2 separate regions of the Homo sapiens genome follow, and region 2 is linked to region 1. The links are contacts of gene promoters, found by promoter capture Hi-C in blood cells and fetal thymus (Javierre and others, 2016). All regions are on one chromosome and are shown on one strand. Each heading gives the region's core, a stretch centred on a gene start or on the middle of the fragment in contact. The rest is flanking DNA. Distances are from core to core; before and after follow the strand shown. Region 1 holds the start of PITPNC1 (phosphatidylinositol transfer protein cytoplasmic 1). Region 2 overlaps PITPNC1 (phosphatidylinositol transfer protein cytoplasmic 1).

Evidence for each region. The method cuts DNA at HindIII sites, captures the fragments that hold promoters and counts their contacts. A CHiCAGO score of 5 or more calls a contact.
Region 2: a fragment that was not itself captured here is called in contact with the fragment with the promoter of PITPNC1 in region 1 in 2 of 17 cell types (total CD8 T cells and naive CD8 T cells); the score reaches 6.4 in total CD8 T cells.

What each region holds. Positions count from the first base shown.
Region 1 is chr17:67,375,315-67,381,736 of GRCh38, reverse strand. PITPNC1 (phosphatidylinositol transfer protein cytoplasmic 1) reads right to left here and starts at 4,456. Exons shown (of 9, transcript NM_012417.4): 1 at 3,535-4,456. The coding sequence starts at 3,582. RefSeq lists silencers at 2,602-2,961, 3,072-3,371, 3,382-3,801, 4,152-4,401, 4,452-4,571 and an enhancer at 3,957-4,650. The HindIII fragment of the contact is 18,019 bases long and covers 1-6,422 here.
Region 2 is chr17:67,485,526-67,491,661 of GRCh38, reverse strand. The region is part of intron 1 of PITPNC1 (phosphatidylinositol transfer protein cytoplasmic 1); the gene reads right to left. Among named protein-coding and RNA genes, the nearest start is that of MIR548D2, 17 kb to the right of the region's middle. RefSeq lists enhancers at 2,150-2,389, 4,239-4,328. The HindIII fragment of the contact is 1,626 bases long and covers 2,037-3,662 here.

The DNA of each region.
Region 1 (6,422 bases), core at 3,207-5,706:
CTCACGCCTTTGGGAGGCCAAGGCGGGCGGATCGCGAGGTCAGGAGATTGAGACCATCCTGGCTAACACGGTGAAACCCCGTCTCTACTAAAAATACAAAAAATTAGCAGGGTGCGGTGGCTGGCGCCTGTAGTCCCAGCTACTCGGGAGGCTGAGGCAGGAGACTCGCGTGAACCCGGGAGGTGGACCTTGCAGTGAGCTGAGATTGCACCACTGCGCTCCAGCCTGGGAGACAGAGGGAGATTCCGTCTCAAAAAAAAAAAAAAAAGAGAGAGAAACAAGTTCCAGAAGTTCCATGTAGGTTGAATCAGGCCCAGAGCCAACCAAGAGTGGAAGCAAAAGTTAGGCTCCCAGGCCGGGCGCAGTGGCTCATGCCTGTAATCCCAGCCCTTTTTTTTTTTTTTTTTTTTGAGTGGAGTCTTGTTCTGTCGCCCAGGCTGGAGTGCAGTGGCGTGATCTCAGCTCACTGCAAGCTCCGCCTCCCAGGTTCACGCCATTCTACTGCCTCAGCGTCCCAAGTAGCTAGGACTACAGGCGCCCGCCACCAGGCCTGCTTAATTTTTTTGTATTTTTAGTAGAGACGGGGTTTCACTGTGTTAGCCAGGATGGTCTCGATCTCCTGACCTCGTGATCTGCCCACCTCAGCCTCCCCAAGTGCTGGGATTACAGGCGTGAGCCACCGCACCCGGCAATCCCAGCACTTTAAAAGGCTGAGGCAGGAGGATCACTCAAGCTCAGGAGTTCAAGACCAGCCTGGGCAACACAGCGAGTCCCTGTCTCTACAAAAAGTAAAAAAATTAGCCGGGTTGGCAGCACACACCTATTGTCCCAGCTACTCAGGAGGCTGAGATGGGAGGATCACTTGAGCCCAGGAGATGGAGGCTGCAGTGAACTAGGATCACGCCACTGCACTCCAGCCTGGATGACAGAGCGAGACCGTGTCTCAAAAAGAAAAAAAAAAAGTTAGGCTTCCAAAGTTTACCTAAACATCTTATTTAAAGAAACTCAAGTTGCTTCCTCATTTTCAATGTGGAAAAAGGGTCAGTGGAAAAGGGGATGGTGGAGACTGTGGAATTTACTATCAGTTCTGACTCTAGGGGTTTAACATCTGGCAAACTAGGCCTCATTTCTTCATCCATCATCAGATTTAGCTAATCTGAATCCTACTAATTGGAAACATCTATTAATCTAAATTGCCCTCCTGCTTCTCTGACAAAGCCGAAAATGACTTCAGAATATGAACCTTACAGAAACTGAATCATACTTTGGCCAAAATGAATTATACATTAAAGAATTTATAATTATATTACAGGTGGAGTCTGATGAGTCTGATTTTGTTGGCCAATTAAGAAAGGAAGGGCTGGCTGGGCGCAGTGGCTCATGCCTGTAATCCCAGCACTTTGGGAGGCTGAGGCAGGCGGATTGCCTGAGGTCAGGCATTCAAGACCAGCCTGGCCAACATGGTGAAACCCCGTCTCTACTAAAAATACAAAAATTAGCCAGACGTGGTGGCAGGCACCTGTAATCTCAGCTACTCAGGAGGCTGAGGCAGGAGAATTGCTTGAATCCAGGTGGCGGAGGTTGCAGTGAGCCGAGATCTCGCCATTGCGCCCCACCCTGGGCAACATAACAAGGCTCCATCTCAAAAAAAAAAAAAAGAAAAGAAAAGACAAAAAAAAGGAAGGAAGGAAGGAAGGGCCTCCACCTATATCATTCAAATGTAATTACCCCACGGTATACCTGTGGGTATTTCGGTACAAAAACAAAAGTGGGAAAAGCATCTGCCTGAGTGTTTCAGAAAGCCTGAAAAGGGAACCAACTAGGATAAAGAGATTTTGTAGTTAGTAGAGAAGATTCTAGAACTGGTTCTTTTCTTGATTATCACCTGCAATTTTCTGTGTATTTCATGCAGTCCCAACATTGCTCCTAGAATCCAAACTCATATCAAAAAACAAGGTCATTAGGATATGGAGTAGAGGGATCCATGCCTCCCAGCTGAATTACTCTAGCTCAACTGCCCACAAGGTGGGACAATCTCCACCTTTTCTGGAAAGACTCCTATTAACCAGTCCCATTCATTTGCCCTTCTCTTTCTCCACAAAGCTATGTCCTGCTTCTCCACTTACAAGGTCATATGCAACTCGAATCTCTGTCTACCCACCTGGCATCCACCCTTCCAGACCCTGCTTAAATGCTACCTCCTCAAATGCCAACGAACTCCAAAACTCGGTTGTTCATTCTGGTGGAAGCTGATCTCTCCCTCCTTGGCAGCCTGTGTCCCCGTGATGCGTTTTGTAAACTTGCAGCTACTTTGATCTTGTCTTGGATTGTACTTGGGTCTTACCTTAACCCTTGGTCCAGATGGCAAATACGGACAGCCCCTGTGAGCTCAGCCATGTTCTCAGTTATGCATCTTTTTCTCTCCCAAAGCACATCGCCCCTCTCACCAAGTAGTGGCTCAAAAACATATCTGATAGTTTCGAGGCACCAGATTTAAATATAAAGACGGTCTGGGTGGCTGATTTCATGTGTGTTGCCACACCAAACCACACTAGTGAGTTTCACGTTGCCTTGCTTGGCTTTGGGCTCCCTCGCTGTCCCTGGACAGAGACGCTCAGCAGTCGTGGAATCACCACAAAGGTGGGGAGGAAGAAGGGGAAGAAAGGGAAGCCGGGGCCGGAATAATCCTATCTGAGTCACCACTTCCTGAATACTGGAGCTCGCGGCTTCGCAGGATCGGGAGAAGGACAGCAGAGCCGCGCTTGGAGGACGAGCCCCCGCCCCGCGCCCGGCGCCCCCAGCCGGCAGCCGCGGCCCCGGCACCACGTGCTGGAGCGCCCTCCTGTGGCCGCGTCGCAGCCCCCGCCGCTCCCGGCTCGCGCGCCGCTCCCCGCGGCGGAAGAAACAAGAGACGCAGAAAGTTTCCGAGCCAGGCGGTTTGCGAAAGGACACAGCCGGGTCCCGAGCCTCGAAGGGCGGACGTGCCGGGAGCTGCGCCCAAGCCCGCGGCGACGGCGAGAAGTCGGGCCCCGCAGGGACCTCCCCTAAGGGCTCAGAGGTTCCTCCCGCGGGGCTCGGGGCGTGCAGATCCCGAGGGCGCAGGGCTCCTCCTCGCACCCCTACCTGACCGCAGAGGGCGGGGAGGGGAGGCTGGGCCCACGGCCAGGACGGGATGCCCCCCAAACCCCAGCTACAGCGCGCGCCGGGGGCTCTTGGGTTTGGTTTATTCATTTTCTTATTTGGAGGGAGGGGGCGCACCCACTCCCTTTGGCTCATAGTGATCCCCAACAGTCTGGATTCTGGGCGCCCCCGAAAAGCCCACCCGGAGTCCGCCGCCCCACCCAGCGCCGCCCTCCCCCGCTGGGGTGACAAGTGGAAGCCGCAAATCCCCTCCCTCCTCTCCTCCAGGCTTCGGGTTTGCGGGGTAACGTCCACCTGGGTTTCCTGCCGCTCGCCCGGGGCTCGCCGGCCAGGAGGCGGCGGTAGCGGCGGGGGTCCCGGAGCGGGCGAGGCCGGGCCGGGCGCGGCGCTTACCTCGTCTACGGTGAGCGGCATGCAGATCCGGTACTCTTTCAGCAGCATGGTCCTGCCGGCCGCGGACCCCCGGGGCGGGAAGCGGGGGGCGCCCCCAAGACCAGCAAGGCTGCTGCCCAGGCGCAGGGCAGGGCGCCCGGAGCCCGGCGCTCGGAGCCGGAGGGCGAAGCAGCCCCCGCGGCGCGCTCAGCTCCTGGCTTCCTCCTCTCCGCCCCAGAGCATGTCAGGGTTTGGGTCTGGGTGTTCGCAGCTCCCCCGCCTCCTCCCTCGCCGAGGCCGGTCCTCCCGGAACGCGGTGTTGCAAAGTCAGGGAGGCAGGGAGGGAGACCCGCTGGGGACGACTCTGCTCGGCTGCCCAGGGTGGTAGGAGCGGCCGCCAGATCAGGACATGCCCGGCAGCGAGCGAGGGAGGAAAAAAGAGAGATTTCCAAAAATTAAAACGAATGCACAAAAGTCACCCGCTCGATCCGCCTCCGAAAGCAGACGGGAACCTGGCGACCCCCCTCCTCCGGCGGGTCTGCCCGATGCTAATGTCACCAGGAACACATTGCAGCCGGAGCCGGAGATGCTGACTTTCCAGACAAAGGCTCGATCGGCTTCTCTCCGCGGGCGGTAAACAAGATTTCCTGCTCTTTTTAGGGCCGGTCCCCGCGCCGCTCCGGGGCTCGGCTCGGGGAGAAAAGGGAAGCCGCCGCCGCCGCCGCCGCTCGGCTCTGCCCGGCTGGGGCCCCGGGCGCCTCCAACCTCGGCTCGCGGCTGCCAGGGGCGGGCGGGAGGAAGCTGGCGCCTTCCGCGCGCGTCCCCTCCCCCGAGTCCCTCGGCTCCCCGGGCGCCGTGCGTGCCCGCGAGTTTGCAGCCACCTCGCCGGGGCCGGAGCGTCCGCGCCGATGCAGTGTGCCTGGGGCCGGGAGGTGGGTGCGGGAGGAGCGAGCGCGAGCGAGGCTGACATCAGCAGCGGCCGCGGCGGGGAGGGTAGCCCCATCCGGCCAATGGGGAAATGGCAAAGAATGTGGAGGATTTAAACAAAACAGCATGTCTCTGCCAGACGGCGGGGCTGCTCCGGAGCGGAGCCCGGCCGGCGCTGGGGAGGCTCGGGCAGAGGGGCTTTCCTCGGCTCCTTTGCCCTTTGAATCCGCTCTCCATTGTGCCCTGAGTGCTGCCGTGCTCCATCCAGCCCCTCTGGGAAGTTTCTGGTCCCCTGACCCTAGGGACAAGTCACCAATGCCCACCACCTATGTGTGGTCCAGTAAGCAAGTCTGGGGCTGGAGAGGCAATGGGTGGGATTTGGGAACAAACCCTTGCCTGGTTTCAGAGGAGAGATCCTGGAAAACTGGGAAGTGCAGCCGTGTGAATGGAAATGAAGTACAAACGGGGAGGGAACAACCAGAGAGAACATGAACCCCACGTAGCCTGTTACCTCGCCTGGCCCGGCTCTGCAATCTTTCTGCAGATTGTGCAGGCTCCGCGCAGCAGAAAGAAAGAGTAGGTTTTCGTATCCGCACTCCTAAGTTCAAAAAGTCACAGTGAAATGTCAATGAAAATGCCTGGAGTGTTGCTATTTGATCCATATTAAACAGATCTCTCATTTTAACCACAAGAAGCACATTCTTCAGTTACTCAGGAAGCAGCATGGAACTGCTGAAGTCTGTTTTTCATTTGTCTGGTATTTTTCAGCTTGTTTTTATGAAAAGTTGCCGGATGAAAAATGCATCAGTTGCCTGTATGAGAATAACCTGTAAGCGTTATCTTTTCTCCGAAAAATCTTCACGCTCTGAAGTCCTGAAGCTAGAGCTTAGATGGCGATGCAGATGCCTCAATACAGTATTTTGAATTGTGTTTAATTAATAAGTAATTAACCAATATGACGATGATGGGCTTGTGGCAAAAGTCATCCAGAGGGCTGGAGAGAATTTATAACTGTTAACTGATACAAACCCTCCTAGGAAAATGATACCCTATATCCAGCTTATATTTTAGTGGAAACTATTTTCCAGATAAATGCTTTCCAGAGTTGGCTCAGAAATATTCACAGCAACTAATTAAAGCTAAACCAAATTCCTCGAGGTGGAAAATCTAAATCTGACACTGCAGTGTTGAATAATAACACATTGGAAGGCTGTGATATGGAAAGAAACTCAAGCTGTTTTTCCTTTTTTTTTTTTTTTTTTTGCTTCTTACTTGAAAACAAATGGAAGACCTAATAATCTTCCCAGAGGCAGGAAGGCAAGGGATTGGCTAGCCACACATGCGCATGCACTTGGGACATCGGGATGTGTAGGCTCAGTTCCTGGCTTCCTGGACATTTCCTGACACTGATTCTGGAAGGAAGTATTCTACTGACGGGTGACACTGTTGAGGAGCTACTTCTCTGAATTTCCCGAACTGTAAATTGTCACATATATGCTTCCTCCATCATCCGTCTTGTTGCTGTTATTGGTTTGTGATGGAGTTTCGCTCTTGTTGCCCAGGCTGGAGTGCAATGGCATGATCTCGGCTCACTGCAACCTCCACCTCCCGGGTTCAAGCAAGTCTTCTGCCTCAGCCTCTGGAGTAGCTGGGATTACAGGCACCGGCCACCACGCCTGGCTAATTTTGTATTTTTAGTAGAGATGGAGTTTCACCATGTTGGTCAGGCTGGTCTCAAACTCCTGAGCTCAGGTGATGGCCTCGGCCTCCCAAAGTGCTGGGATTACAGGTGTGAGCCACCGCGCCCAGCCCACCCCTCCTGTTGTAAGGTGACTTCTCCATTGGATTCTCATTTTCTTTTCATTCATTGCATCCGCAAACCTGGTCATATTAATCTTGTGCAAGTACAGCTCTCATCCTGCCACCTTCAAACCTTTTAGTGATTCCTGGCTGGGCTCGGTGGCTCACCCCTGTAATCCCAG
Region 2 (6,136 bases), core at 1,600-4,099, 110 kb before region 1:
TTACTATGTTGCTGGAGCTGGTCTTAGACTCCTGGCCTCAAGTGACCCTCCCACCTGGGCGTATGTTTTTATTATCTGATTTCCCACCACTAACCAAAGTGGTGAGATCCTTTAACAAATTACAAGCCAGAGACCATCAGCGTGCGTGTGCTCTGTGCCACATCAGCTCAGAAAACCAGGCTATAATTTTAGACAGATGTTCATGAACTTGGGGATTCCTGGTGGGCAGACTTGATGCCTCCAACCCTGGACAGCAGGGAAGCAGCAGTGCCCTGCACCCAGATGACCCAGAAAGCATTTCTTAATGAACGGCCCGGCATTGTGACTCATGCTGGCTCCCACATCTGGCAGATCTGGGTTACATCACGCACGGTCCTCAGTGTCCTGCGGGTTCCTGGGAACGCGCTGCCCAGAGTCAAGTGCACCAGCTGCAGTGGCCGGCTGCGTTCACACGCCTCTCTGCGTCATCCTGATGGCCACACACTATGGGGCTGGCTCCGGCTCCGGGCTCCAGAGGCTGAGCCGACTGTGAGGAGGTCACCTCCCTCTCACTTTCCCATGGGCTTAAGAAGAAGTCACCATGGAAGTAAACCCTGGTGCCCAGGGCAGGACTGCATTCTTTGTTTCTCTACACTAATAGACCCTGGCATCACAATTCCACTGTATTAGCTGTGCTAATCTAGAGAGGAAAACAAAACAAAACAAAACCTCAGCCATTCACATTCCTTGAATAGAATCAGAGGAGGAGAGAAGTAAGTATAAAGTTTGAAAGAATCCCGAGAAGAAATGTTGATATAAACAGCTCTTGGCATCAGGTGGATGGTGTCAGGGAAGTTACTATTTTCGTGGGGACAGAGGCGCTGACGTTCAGCTCCATTGGACCCAGAGTCCTGTGCTATGTTCTCTCGTGACTGACAAAGCCCCCAACTCATTTCTCCCTGGGGACGACATTCCTGCTTTCTTATTCATTACGGATCCTTTGAGATTTTTATTTCGTATCCTTTTATTTACTGATCAGAGCTGCCCTGAAGGCTTCTTCTGGGACACCAGAAACTCCCAGCAGTCCCCTGCCTGCGGGGAGGCTCTTCATCCCAAAGCTCATTATTGTTAGAACAGGATGGGTTCACACCCGGGGGCTCTCTCTCCAAGCCTCCTCACTCCCCATCAATTCCACCTGTTCATTCAGAGTCGTGGTATGTCAGAGCTAGAGGGGACATTTTTAAAAAAATCATTAATTTCATTCTTTTATCTGGTTTGCCAATCTATGCCCTAATTTTAAAGCCAAGATTTAAAAAAAAACAAAACAAAAAACAAAAAACCAACAACAACAAACTGAGATCCTGCCAAGTTAAATAATTCATTATCCCTGGTTAGATAATAACACACACACACACACAAGTATGACCCAGGTCTCCTCATTCTTAGCTCCAAAGTTACATAATGCATCCTCATTCCTCATTCTTAGCTCCAAAGTTACATAATGCATCCTCGTTAATTAAAACACACACACACACACACACACACACACACACACACACACACACACACAGAAAAGCCTGTTTCCAAATCTTTAAACCTTGGGCTGAGATGTACAAATCTGAAGATATGCTCCAAAGAAATAACCTGGCTGGGTGTGGTGGCTCACGCCTGCAATCCCAGCATTTTGGGAGACCGAGGGGGATGGATCACTTGAGGTTCGAGACCAGCCTGGCCAACATGGTGAAACCCCGTCTCTACTAAAAATACAAAAATTAGCCGGGCGTGGTGGTGCACACCTGTAATACCAGCTACTCGGGAGGCTAAGGTGGGAGGATTGCTAGAACCTGGCAGGAAGAGGTTTCAGTGAGCCAAGATCCTATCACTGCACTCTAGCCTGGGACAGAGCGAGACTCCATCTCAAATTAAAAAAGAAAAAGAAAAAAGAAATAACCAAAAAGACAACAGACAGCATGAAAGGGATTGAGAAAAGGTTCGGGTTCAGTAATTCACTTGGGTGCTACAGAACCCTGGCTGCATATTAGACTCGCCTGGAAGCTTTCAAAAGTCCCCATGCTGAGGCCAGGACTCAAACCAATGAAATCAGAATCTCTAGAGGCGGGATCAGAGGCGGGGTCTGGACATCAATAAGCCACAAGGTGAATCCCGTGAGCAGCTAACATGAAACATCATTGATTTACCAGACTTGAGGCCACCATAACTGTATAGTGACCACAATCTTTGTCATCCAAGGAAGAAAAGGAGAAGGAAGGAGTCATTTATAGCCCATGATCTTTAGTTCATTCTGAGATCCTCTCTGTGCTTTTGGGGGTTCATCAGATGTAGGGTCAAACTGAGAAGGTCTACACTGGTGATCTCACCCTGGAACAGGGCCACTCTTCCATACCACATCTGTGAGGACAGAGGCCTATGGGCTGTACCTGGAGGCAAAAGGAGACGGAGCAAACAATCCAGCCCAGTAAGTACTCCTAGGGTGGCTCTCCCAAGTTCTCAAGATACTTTTCTTTTTTAAAAAAGGAGTCTGTTACCGTATGACCCATCAATTCCAATTCTGGGAAAGTACCCCAAAGAACAGAAAGCAGAGGCTCAAACAGGTATTTGTATAACTGTGTTCATGGCAGTACTATTCACAATAGTCAAAAGGTGGAAACAACCCATGTCCATCCACGGAGGGATGGATGGATGAACAAAACATGGTATATCCGTACAATGGAATATTATTCACTCCTGAAAAGGAAGGAAATTCTGATACACACTACCACACAGATGCACCTTGAGGATATTACGCTAAGAGAAATAAGCCAGATAGATACACAAGGACAAATACAGTGTGATTCTACTTATGTGAGTACCTAGAGTAGTCAAACTCAGGGACAGAAAGTGGCTCTGAAATTCAGAGACGGGCGGCTGCCAGGGGCTGCCAGGAGGGGAACAGGCAGTTACCACTGAACAGGCACAGAGTTTCAAGATGCAGAGTTCTGCAGATGGATAGTGGTGATACTGGTACAACGATAGGAATGCACTTAATAACACAGAACTGTACATTTAAAAATGGTTAAGATGGTAAATTTTGTTACATGTCTTATCTCCATTTGGAAAAGTGAACAAAAAAAGAGCCCACATGTGGCCCTTCCTTCGTTCGCTCAGGCATTGATGAAGGTGACTGAGGACAGAATTTCAAAGGTTAATGTGTCATCTGTAAAACACAGCACACACCAGGCCCCTGGACTCTGTTCTGCAGGATTGACTGACTCCAAGAGTTACAGAGCCTTGTAACTCCCCCGGGGCACAGGGAGGGCCGTCTGGCAGGCCTCTGGGTTCACATTATATAACAACCGGGCTGCCAGCTTCCAAGCAACACGAGGTGAATTCCGAAGCGCTCCACGCCTAGGATGAGCCAAGTGTTGATTAATTCCCAAATAACTTTATCGTGGGGACTTTTTCTGATTCCCAAATGCAGTGATGCCGCTTATTTGTCAGTTGAGAAATCTGTATTTTTCTGCGATGGGTTGACTCAATGTATTTTTAAAGAGGGACTTACCTTTCATCTTTTCTTTCCTTTTTGCTTAGTATTCTAGGGGCAAAGAAAAACTTCAGCAAGGAGAAAATCCCGCCAGCAACAGCTCTTTTGAGCTGCTCGGTAATCCAAACCTTTCAAGTAAGCTTTCTCCTTTACTGACACCTCTGTGACAGACAGAAAAGAAAAAATCGTAGCTTCTCTCTGATCAGTGGTCCTAACCCTTTTCTTCAATCAGCAGTCCGTGATGATCCTATACAGGGTATAAGATGCGAAGACATCTCCTGGGAGAAATTACTTAGGCCCTGGAGGCTGATCCCAAACCCCAAGTGTGTGAACTCTGGCCGTGCATCTAAATAAACACATCCTGCTCCCCCACCCTCAGACCAGTGGCCCCCAGAACAGCGCTTACACTTGGCCTAGAAAGCCTGTCCTGATGATTCACCATGAAGCCCAAAGTTTGGCAGCCGGAAAAACTTAAACTTTCCCCCTTTCTTAGAGTTTACAAATTAACAGTCCCTGAGAAGTCAATCATTCAACAGAAGTTGGATTAAACACCTTTCACTTGGGCATCCTCCTGAGCTCAGATGGATACAGAGAAACACTCGCTTGTTTCTTCGAGGTAAAATTTTGCAAAATAAATTTCTGTAAATCTGAGCAATAACAAAAAGGAGGCTGGGTGTGGTGGCTCATGCCTGTAATCCCAGCACTTTGGGAGGCCGAGGTGGGTGGATCGTTTGAGGCCAGGAGTTCGAGATCAGCCTGGTCAACATGGTGAAGCCCCACCTCTACTAAAAATACAAAAATTACCCTGGTGTGGTGGTGAGTGCCTATAATCCCAGCTAATCAGGAGGCTGTGGCAAGAGAATTGCTTGAACCTGGGAGGCAGAGGTTGCAGTGAGCTGAGATCGTGCCACTACACTTCCGCCTGGGTGACAAAGCGAGAACCTGTCAAAATAAACAAAAACAAAAAAGGGAAGTGGTTGGGGTGGTCTAACATAAAAATGGTGTGATTTGTCTGTAATGGACTTCAAACTAGTACTCATATTTTATGATGTTGGTTTTCTTTTTCATACAGCTACATAAGAATGAATTCCACAGTACTCTTTTTTTTTTAGACAGAGTCTTGCTCTGTTGCCCAGGCTGGAGTGCGGTGGTGCAGTCTCAGCTCACTGCAACCTCCGCCTCCCAGGTTCAAGTGATTCTCCTGCCTCAGCCTCCCAAGTAGCTGGGATTACAGACATGCACCACCACGCTCAGCTAATTTTTGTATTTTTAGTAGAGATGGGGTTTCACCACGTCTGGCCTCCACAATACTCTTGAATGCAGAACATGCCACACTCGGGACTCCAGGAGACACCCTGAAAGGCAAGAGAGGAGGAGGTTTCCTGGATGCCCCTAACTGTCTGCTCTCACCGCCCTAAATGCATAGACACTTTTCAGTCAACCACATTCCTCGTTATGTGTCTACAGATTCAAAACGTCACCTTTCTGCCTCCCTGCCATTTGCTTGTCCTTGGATAAAAAGGAGAAGACCTCTTTGCTTATAACTATCACTCATGCTTTGTGATTTCTACAAGGCTGTCTGTAGTCCTTGGAATTCTGGAACCATGGAACATATGGACAGCAGTATCCCAGCTGTACTTTGCTACCATCTCCGATCAATGCCATCTTCTCATTAGGATTTGTGGGCAGACACAAGCTTAGCAAGACTACATACAGACTTGCCATAGGAGGAAGAAGAGGTCTATTTTTCTACATTACTCATTAAAGGCAGGCTAAGCATCAGATGTAATAGAATAGCCTATTCCTTCCTTTGCCCACAGCGAGACTTCAACTCATGAAAACACCACCATCAATATATATTGAGTGTTCATTATATATATATAGCCCAAGACTAAGATAATATACTCTATTTCAAAACACTGCCAAAACTCCGAGAACATTTTTTGGCACATTTAAACAGCAGAATGACCATAAATTATGTAAAGGGAGAATTTTCTGAGTACATGTCAGGAAAAAATAAAATAAAAACCTCTAGCAGCAGAATTTAATGCTTAATAACTCTCATGCTAAAGTTTCAGTTTAATCAATTGTGACTTTTGATATTTTATTTAATGCGTCTAAGGAGCATCACCAGAAGAAATTTTAATACTATTGCTTCTAAATTCAATTAGAATGCTTACATTTTTATGTTAGGGTAACATTTGCAGAGCCATTCTTTAATACGCAAGTTATTAAATCCCACGGTCCCTTAATCCACATTGCAGACTAATCTAATGCATTTAAGCCGCCCCCAGAAGACAGCCTTCAGCTTGTGGCTCATACAGCGTGATAGCTTTTGCTCTTTTTTTGACCGAAGAAGTCATTTTTCTTTCCTCTTGACATCTTAAGAGTCATCTTTAATAATGTTTTTCTGTAGTTCCAATGTCCCTCAACTCCTGATCTTACAGACTAAATTGGCAAGTCAGTTGTTCTTCCGTAGAAAGATCTAACTAATTGGCCGGGTGCGGCGGCTGAGACCAGTAATCCCAGCACTTTGGGAGGCTGAGGTGGGTGGATAGAGACCAGCTTGGCCAACATGGTGAGACCCCATCTCTACTAAAAATACAAAAATTAGCC